Regions from separate parts of the Homo sapiens genome. Here region 1 is linked to region 2. The links are contacts of gene promoters, found by promoter capture Hi-C in human tissues and cell types (Jung and others, 2019). All regions are on one chromosome and are shown on one strand. The core of a region is centred on a gene start or on the middle of the fragment in contact, and the rest is flanking DNA. Distances in the headings are between cores, read along the strand shown. Region 1 has its middle 30 kb from the start of SNORA71B. Region 2 holds the start of MANBAL (mannosidase beta like).

The links. The method cuts DNA at HindIII sites, captures the fragments that hold promoters and counts their contacts. A contact is called where the count stands out against the background at its distance.
Region 1: a contact is called between a fragment that was not itself captured here and the fragment with the promoter of MANBAL in region 2, in 1 of the 25 tissues and cell types used here (dorsolateral prefrontal cortex).

Annotation. Positions count from the first base shown.
Region 1 is chr20:38,392,999-38,398,269 of GRCh38, forward strand. No RefSeq gene overlaps it. Among named protein-coding and RNA genes, the nearest start is that of SNORA71B, 30 kb to the right of the region's middle. The HindIII fragment of the contact is 3,869 bases long and covers 1-3,356 here.
Region 2 is chr20:37,288,341-37,293,167 of GRCh38, forward strand. It overlaps MANBAL (mannosidase beta like), which reads left to right and starts at 1,315. Exons shown (of 3, transcript NM_001003897.2): 1 at 1,315-1,346. RefSeq lists enhancers at 1,103-1,212, 1,285-2,189, 3,418-3,527. The HindIII fragment of the contact is 10,035 bases long and covers 1-4,827 here.

The DNA of each region.
Region 1 (5,271 bases), core at 172-2,671, 1.1 Mb after region 2:
TTATTATTAGTAACACATTCCTTGGACGTCAGGGTTCTCCCCTGCTTCCCCTCCCAGAGACTTTCTAGTTTGCCCTGTTCAGTTAACTCTTCCTTTCCCTCAGCAAGAAAATACGTGCCTATCTAACACCATAAATAATCAAATAATCTCTCCTTGTTCAGAACTCAGCTCCACAATTCAATTGGCAACCGATCATGTGGTATTTTCAACTGCTATTTAAATATTTTGCTATCTAATTTCTCCTAGTTTTATGTCTAACCTCCCTAAGTAGATTATAATTGCCTTGAGGGCAGGAAACAGATATTACATGTCTTTGTATCACCCACGGCTCAATGCAGTACTGAGTCAGGCACTTAATACGTATCTGGTGATTTGATTTGAAGTCTCTTGTCACTTAACCTAGTGATCCAATCTTTTCCCAAGTTATGGGCTGCCCTAGGCTTTTATCATATAGCTCCTTCAATTTATAGCCAGCTGTTAATTATCTCCAGATCTTGCCACTGCGCTTCTGTGCATGCTCAGCTGTCCCCACCTTTCACTTTAATTTCTCCTGTTCAGATCCCAGAGCCGCCCGCAAAGGATATCTCACCCTGTTCTCACTGATGATGGTTCTAAGCTGCCCACTGGGGCTTTGAAAGGTACTTGGAAGGTAAATGAGCCACAGAATGTTAACCCAGGAGGGCGGAAACCCAGGGCAGCAGGAAGTAAGAGAGGACCTTGAGGGTCTCCATTTTGCAGGGTGCTCAAGGGCCAAAGGGAAGGGAGGCCCTGGCAGGTTGAGGTGACCTTTACACTTTAACACTTTGGTGAGTTTCCTTAACACCTTCCCATTTCTGAAGAGCCTGGACGTGGTTGAGGTCTTGCAGAGAACGAGTAGAGAGTGCGGTGGTTTCAACTGAAATAGTCCCTGTCAATCTAACAGTCCAATATTTGTAGTTACTTCTCACTATGGATTCAGTTGTGGTACCCCCAAAAAAGATATGCTGACCAGGTGGGGTGGCTCATACCTGTAATCCCAGCACTTTGGGAGGCCAAGGCAAGTGGATCACTTGAGGTCAGAAGTTTGAGACCAGCCTAGTCAACATAGTGAAACCCCGTCTCTTCTAAAAATATAAAAATTAGCCAGGCGTGGTGGCGGGCATCTGTAGTCCCAGCTACTCAAGAGGCTGAGGCACGAGAATCGCTTAAACCTGGGAGGCGGAGGTTGCAGTGAGCCGAGATCACACCACTGCACTCCAGCCTGGGCGACAGAGCAAGACTCCATCTCAATAAATAAATAATCAAAAAAGATATGCTGAAGCTTTAACCTCCAGGACCTCAAAATGTGATCTTATTTGGAATAGGCTCTTGATAGAGGTAATCAAATTAAAATGAAATCATCAGGATGGGCTCTAATCCAATATGACTTGTGTCCTTATAAAAAGGGAAAATTTGGACACAGATGCAGCTACACGCAGAGGGGAGGTGATGTGAAGACAACTATGTGATGCTGGAGGCAGAGATTGGACTGATGCAGCTGCCATTCCAGGGATGCATGAGGCTGCTGGAAGCTAGGAAGATGCAAGGAAGGATTCCACCCAGAGTCTCAAAGGGAGCATGGCCTGTGGGCACCTTGACTTCTGACTTCTAGCCTTCAGGACTGGGAGACAATCCATTTTTGTTGTTTTAAGTAACCCAGTTTGTGGGGACGGGGAGGTGGTTAAGAAAGGGTCTCACTCTGTCATCTAGCAGGCTGGAGTGCAGTGGTGCAATCACGGCTCACTGCAACCTCAACCTCCTGGATTGAAGTATCCTCCAATCTCAGCCTCCTGAGTAGCTGGGACTACAGGCATGTGCCACCACACCCAGCTAATTTTTTGGTGTTTTGTAGAGATAGCATCTTCCTATGTTGCCCAGGCTAGTCTCGAACTCCTGAGCTCAAGCTATCCTCCTACCTCGGCCTCCCAAAGTGCTGGGATTACAGGCATGAGCTACTGTGCCTGGTCTAGCTTGTGGTATTTTTTATGGCAGCCCAAGAAAACGAATACACTTACTTTCCCTTATCCATGCTTCCCTTCCCATATCCATAAAGGGGCACCTAAAGTCAACCTCTCAAGAGTGGGAGGGTTTTTAGCTGAAATAAAGATTTAAGTTAGCCATGCAAAAGTCAGCTTCTCACTGAGTTTCCAAAATAACTGCAGCTGTTCCAACTATTCTTCTGAGAGGAAAACCTTTAGAAATGTTCCCTGGGAGATGGGCTCCCAGGTTGCCAAGCCCTTTTCTGGAGGGAATGTTCCAGACTCAGCTCCCTTGGGACTTTCCCTGCTGTCTGTACGAGTCTCAGACGTGCTGAAGCAGAGAATCAGATGGTAGTGGCTGCTGATGTTTGGTGCCCAATGGTCTGGATAAATTCTTTTTGTTTCCATTAGAACATTCAGTTTCCCCAATCTATGTGCTCTTGGGAGGTGGAGAGAGAAAATCCACTCATTCCACAAATATTTATTGAGCCAGCACTGTATGCCAAGTGCTGTCATTGTGCTTGGGATTTATCAGTAAACAAAACAGATCCAGAAAATTCCCACCTTTATAAACATTACATTCTAGGATGGGAAGAGACAGGCAATAATAAATGAGAACAAAAGTTAATTAGATAGTAGGTTAAGAGATGATAATGGTTATGGGAGAAAATAGAACAGAGTTATAATCCAATCTTTATCCATTTTGTTACTCAAATTATCCCAGCTTTAGTCGTTAGAAATGACTTCAGGATGGCCCCTACATCCTTTGGCTATGTCCCTGTATTTGCCTGTTTTCATACTGCTATAAAGAACTGCCCAAGACTGGGTAATTTATAAAGGAAAGAGGTTTAATTGACTCACAGTTTGGCATGGCTGGGGAAGCCTCAGGAAACTTACAATTATGGTAGAAGGCAAGGAGGAAGCAAGGCACCTCCTCCCAAGGCGGCAGGAAGGAGAAGTGCTGCGCAAAGGGGGAAGAGCCCCTTATAAAACCATCAGATCTTGTGAGAACTCACTCACTATCATGAAAACAGCATGGGGGAACTGCTCCCATGATTCAATTACCTCCACCTGGTCTTTCCCTTGACACATGGGGATTATGGGGATTACAATTCAAGATGAGATTTGAATGGGAACACAAAGGCTAACCATACTAGGCCCCATTATTTTCTGAGCACTTCCTCACTCTAGCACAACAGTATGTGTGCCAGGTTCATCTTTTACTTCCCCTGCTAAAGACTTGCAATCTCCAAGGAACTCTAGTTCCTTTTATTGAAAAATGGTATTTGGAAACCAAGATTTGGGTGCTAGATGTCTAGATGTGCTCACTGCTACTGGGATGCCATTGCCTCTAGGGCTTCTGAGAGGACAAAACTAGAAACTTTACATAGGACAATTACTAACAAGCATACACATAAAGCCATATTTATTTCTATATTTATGCATCTGTATAATTGTTCAAAACCATGGGTTCATACTGATATTTCTGATTCTCATCCAACACCACACAGGATTCATTCTAGCTCCTTCCTTATTTCTAACTTTTTTTCCAACAGTGAGAACCCTGGCTCTAATTATCCATAATCTGCTTTCCTTTTTGTTCAATCCAAATAGACACATATTGACTAAACAGAGCACAATATTTGTATGCAATTCTTTTTATCTTTGACCTTACAATATACAGTAAAAATGCTGTCTTCCAGAGTTGCTTAGTTCTTTTATTCCCCACATCCTTCAGTGGGATTATCTCAGTCATTTGTAACACAGGTTCATTTGCTATAGCTTATATGCCATTTGGGGTTTCTCCCACATATCCTGGTTGGTTTTGATGATTTATTTGTTTACTGGGCATGTGAAACATTACTATGGTTCTGACAGTCAAGGCTATACAAAAAGGTGTACTCGCCAGCATTTGGCATTACATTTTTTTTTTTATTTTAGCCATCCTAATAGGAGAATAATGGTATCTCATTGTGGCTTTAATCTACATTATCCTAAGAGCTAATGATGTTGAGCATCTTTGGTGAGTTACCTAATCAAGTCTTTTACAGATTTTCTCATTGGATTATTTATTATCTTAAGGTTGAGTCTAAAGAGGTTATGTGTGTATGTGTACATATACATATATATATATTCTAGATACAAGTCTTTTGTCAGATACATTAATTGGCACGTTTTCTCCCAGTTTGTGGCCTGCCATTTCATTCTCTTAACAAGGCTGTTCACAGATTACAAGTTTTTAATTTTGATGAAGTCCAACTTATTATTTTTCTTTCATGGCTTGTGCTTTTGGTGTAATATCTAAGAAATCTTTACCAAGACCTAGGTTTTCTTTTGTGTTTTCTTCTAAAAGTTTTATAGTTTTGCATTTTATATTTAGATCTATGATTCATTTTGAGTTAATTTTTGCATACAGTGTACAGTTTGGGTGAAGGTTTATTTTTTGGCCTGTGGATGTCCAATTATGCCACCAATATTTTGGGGGAGCACTATTCTTTCTCCATGGAGTTGCTTTTGAAACTTTTTCAAGAATCAGTTGCCCATACTTGCCTGGATCTATTTCTGGACTCTCTACTCTGTTCCCTGGGTCTGTGAGTCTGTTCCTCCAATACCACTGTCTTCATTGCTGTTGTTATTACACAGTAAGTCTTAAAAACAGGTAGTGTGATTTCTCCAACTTTATTCTTCATTTCCAAAATTCTTTTAACATTTCTAGCTCTTTTCCCTTTAAGAGTACACTTTAGAATCAGCTCATCTATATTTACAAAAACTCCTGCTGGAACTTTGATCGGAATTATATTAAACATATAAATAAATTTGGAGAGGACTGTCATCTTTGCTGTGTTGAGTCATCCAATCTGTGAATGCAGGTTGTCTCTCCTTTTATCTGGGTCTTTGATTTCATAGCACTTCATAGTTTTCAGCACACAGATGCTGTACATGTTTTGTTAAATTTATACCTAAGTACTGCACCTTTTGGAGCTGTTATAAATGGCACTGCATTATTAATTTCAGTTTGCAATTGTTCATTGCTAATTTACAGAAATATGACTGATTTTTCCATGTCAACCTCTCACTGTCTGACTATAATTTGTTATTCTCTTACTATACTACTGGATTCCATTTATTAATCTTTTATAGAAAAGTTTTGTTTCAATATTCATAGATGAAATTAGCCTGTGAATTTCTTTCTGCTATCTTGTCAGGTTTGGATATTTGTAGCTTCATAAAAATAACTAGGCAGTTTATCTTGTTTCTCTCTATGCTCTGGAAC
Region 2 (4,827 bases), core at 65-2,564:
CAATGTCTTTTATGACTTTATCTTGGAACTCGTGCTCCAAGATTTCCGCAATATCCTATGGGTTATACAGGTCAGTCTTATTCTTGGTGGGAGGTGACTACAGAGGGGTATGGATATCAGGAGCCAAGAATCGTCAGGGTTTATGGTGGAGGCTGGTTATCACACTCTCATCTAGGTTTCTTTTTCTCCTACTACTTGCCCCCCACCCCTTCTTAATCATGGAACACTGTTCTTTGCCTTCAAAAAACTTATCCTGTTATATGATTACACATTCATTTAATTAGTCTGTCTCCCTCCAACGGACTGTAAGCACCACAAGGGCAGAGACTGTATGTGTCTGCTTTAGCACTGTGTCCTCAGTTACAAGGACAAAGCATAGAGTACGCGCTCAGTGAATGCTTTTTGAATGAATTATAATGATTTGCTTCTGTCTGAATTACAAGAGGTGTTTCTGTTTGTCTCCTCTCTGCATTGTAGGCTCCTAGCTCAGGACCTGGCATAAAATTAAGGAAATGAACGTGAGAAACACTTTTGAAATAGTGACAACACATCCAGATGAACATTTTGCAGGACAGCTACACACCCGTTTTAGCTCACCAGCTACCAGTTGTGACTGTGCTCTGCTCTGGGAGATGGCTTAGCTTTGCATAGGACAAAATTCTAATCTAGTTTCGCGCAGTTCTTACGAATTTGTTACAATGAGACGGGCCAAGCTATACAGCCCATTGCGATGAATAAGTAACTTTTTTTTTTTTTTTTTTTTTTTTTTGAGGAAGAGTCTCATTCTGTCGCCCAGGCTGGAGTGCAGTGGCGCGATCTCGGCTCACTGCAACTTCTGCCTCCCGGGATTCAAGAGATTCTCTTGCCTCAGCCTCCCAAGCAGCTGGGATTACAGGCGCCCGCCACCACGCCCGGCTAATTTTTGTATTTTTGGTAGAGACGGGGTTTCACCATGTTGACCAGGCTGGTCTCGAACTCCTGACCTCAAGTGATCCGTCCGCCTCGGCCTCCCAAAGTGCTGGGATTACAGGCGTGAGCCACCGTGCCCAGCCCCGAGAAGTAATTTCTTTTGTTTTCTTTTTAATTAAACAAAAATGTTGCTGAAACGAGCTGAGTGATATAGGAGCTTAAAGAATTGACAAGCTCTAGATTTCATTTCCCCAAACCTCTTTGTCCAGCTCGAACCCACAGAACAGGGACAAAAGTCGACAAAACCCAGCGGTGCCTCACCCAGAAACCTGGCAACGCGGGCGGAACAGAGCCGGTTGGTTGCTCAGTGCGCGTCACTTCCGGGACTCAGGGTCGCAGGGAACTACTTCCGGGGGAGCGGCGCGGCGGCGCGGGAGGTGAGTGCCGCAGCTTTGCGGTGGGGTGGGAACCGAGAGAGAGCCGTCCTCGGTGCGGTGGCCTGGCTTTCCCGGCCGGCCTGTCTCCAGCGGCGCCGCTTGGTGGGCCCGGCTGTCGCTCCGCTCAGGGCCTGAATACGTTCCCTCGGCGGTTGTTCGAAAGTTACTTCCGGAGGGGAATTTGAGCCCCCCGGGAGGCGGAGGGCCTCGCCTGGGGCAGCCCTGCGCTTTCGTGCGGAGGCTGGGCCAGAACCCAGGGCTCCTCATGGCCTGGTCCGGGCCTTTCCTCCCACGGGTGGAGCAGTAGGAGAACCCTGAGCTCCAGAGTGAATCTGGCCAGGGTTCGAATCCGTATGGCTCTCTTACCGTGGGCAAGTCACGGTTCCTCTCTGGCCCTCAGTTTCGTCTTCTAAAATGGACATACACGCTTGTACTGCGGGGTAAACCGAGGTGGTGAATGTAAAGCCCTTAGTAGGTGCACAGTCCATGTTTGTTGTACGAATTCTAAGAGAAGCGAGAAATGAATATGAGAAACATTTTTAAAATGGTGACAACACATTTAGATTAATAATTATATTTTGCAGGGCATCTGCACACCAGTTTCAGCCCACCGGCTACCAGTGTGACTTTGCCCAGAGAGGTGGCTTAGCTTTGCATTCTAATCTAGTTTTGCGTGGTTCTTAGGAATTTGTTTTAATGGGACGGGCCAGGCTGTACAACCCATTGCCATAAAGCGGTAACTTCTTTTTCTTTCCTTTTTTTTTTTTTAAAGCCATTCTATTTATTTATTTAGAGACGGAGTCTCTCTCTCGTCCACGCTGAAGGGCAGTGGCGGGATCTTGGCTCACTGCAACCTCCGCTTCTTGGGTTCAAGCGATTCTCCTGCCTCAGCTTTCCGAATAGCTGGGATTACAGACGTGTGCCACCACGCCCGGCTAATTTTTGTATCTTTAGTAAAGACAGGGTTTCACCATGTTGGCCAGGCTGGTCTCAAACTCCCGACCTCAGGTGATCCACCCGCCTCGGCCTCCCAGAGTGTTGGGATTATAGGCGGGAGCCACCACACCCGGCTTTTTTTTCTTTTTAATTAAAAAAAAGTTGAAATAGAGATGGAGTCTCACTATGTTTTCCTGCCTGGTCTTGAACTCCTGGAGGCAAGATATCCTTCCTCCTGGACCTCCCAAAGTGTTTGGGATTACTGGCAAGAGCCACTGTGCCTGGCCTAAAACAGTAACTTCTGACACTGGTTTCTATTCCCCAGTCTGTTTTCAGCTGAATTTTCACAATAGAATTTAAAGTTACTTCATTAGAAGCCAAGAATGGCCTACCAGCACAGTACACAACATTGGGAGATGAAGGCCTGTGGCAGTCGTGAAATCTGAGTTTTTCAGTCTTAAGAGAAGATTTAGTATTTGCTAAGTCTTGAGAGCTATACTTGTCTCAGTGGTTTTTTATTTATTTGTTTTGAAATGTTGACCCATTCTTTTTTTCCCCAATAACCTTTTTGTTTTAGAATAATTTTAGATTTACAAAGTTATCGCAAAGATACTTCAGTGAGTGCCCATATAGCCCACGTTTCCCCTATTACTAATATCTGAAATGTCACAATTACTGAACCAATATTGATACATTATTATTAACTCTAATCTGTACTTTATTCACATTTCCTTAGTTTTTCCCTAATGTCCTTTTTCTGTCCTGGTATTATCCAGGGCACCCTATTACATTTAGTCATCATATCTCTTTAGGCTCATCATCTCTGTGATCGTTTCTCAGACTTCCCTTGTTTTAGATGAACTTGAGGGTTTTGAAGATAGTACTGACTGGTCAGATATTTTGCAGAAGGACCTTTAATTAGGATTTGCCTGTTTTTGACATGAGTAAGATCAGGGTAATGGGTTTTTGGGGAGGAGGACCACTGATAGGGTTCGGCTGTGTCCCCACCCAAATCTCATCTTGAATTGTAGCTCCCATAATCCCCCCATGTTGTGGGAGGGTCCTGGTGGGAGACAATTGAATCATGGGGGTGGGTCTTTCCCATGCTATTCTCCTGATAGTGAATAAGTCTCAGGAGATCTGATGGTTTTATAAAGGGCAGTTCCCCTGCACACACTCTCTTGCCTGCTGTCACATAAGACATGCCCTTGCCTCCCCTTTGCCTTTTGCCGTGATTGTGAGGCCTACCCACCCATGTGGAACCGTGAGTCCGTTAAACCTCTTTTTCTTTATTAATTACCCAGTCTCGGGTATTTCTTCAAAGTGGTATGAAAATGGACTAATCCAACCACAGAAGTAAAGTGCTATTCTCATCACATCATATCAAGGGTACATACTATCGATATGAGTTATCATTGTTGACATCTGTTAGCTTGAGCCACCTGGCTTGAGGTAGTAGTCAGGCTTTTCCAGTGTAGAGTTACTTTTCCTCCTGCACTTTCCGCACTGTACTTTTGGAGAAAGTCATTATGTACAGCACACATTTAAGGAGTGTGGAATTATGCCCCATGCTTAAAGGCAGAGTATATAATGCAAATTATTTGGAGTTCTCTGTGGGAAATTTGTCTGTTCCCCTATTTTTTGCTTACAGAGTCATATATTTGTATCGGTGTGAACTCATGGATTTGTTTTGTTTTGAGACAGGGTCTCCCGCTGTCGCCCAGGCTGGAGTGCAGTGGTGCAGTCTTGGCTCACTGCAACCTCCACCTCCCGGGTTTAAGTGATTCTCCTGCCTCAGCCTCCTGAGTAGCTGGGATTACAGGCACCTACCACCATGGCTGGCTAATTTTTGTATTTTTAGTAGAGAGAGTTTCACCATGTTGGCCAGGCTGGTCTTGAACTCTTGACCTCAGGTGATCCACCTGCCTTGGCCTCCTGATTACAGGAATCCCCTCTCCTGGGATTACAGGCGTGAGCCACCATGCCGGGCCTGAACTCATGGATGTTTATTTTATACTTTGGACCAGAATCCAGTACTACTTTATTTTGTTGCTGAAATTGTTCCTCCATTGGCCATTGGGAGCTCTTCCACTTGGCTCCTGTATCCCTTTGACATATCCCCCTCTATATGTTTTGCTTTGTTTTGTTTTGTTGAGCACTTTCTTTCTATTCCAGACTCATCTGGTATGTTTCTGCCCCAGTCCTAGAATTAGCCATTTCCCAAGGAGCCCTGGCTCCTTTTATTGGAGAATGGCCCAGAAAACAAGATCTGGGCTCTAGGTATGCTCAGTGCTTCTCAGTGTCCTTGCTTCTAGGCCTTCGCAGTGGACAGAGTAAGAGACATACGTATATATGCACAGATCTAGAAGTATTTCCATATATAACCACCTGTATCTACGTTCAGCTAAACATAACTGATGTCCAACTCTTATCCATGACTGCATGGATTGTTCTAGCTTGGCAGTCCCCAACCTTTTTGGCACCAGGGACCGGTTTCATGGAAGACAATTTTTCCACAGACCTGGGGGTGGGGATGGTTTTGGGA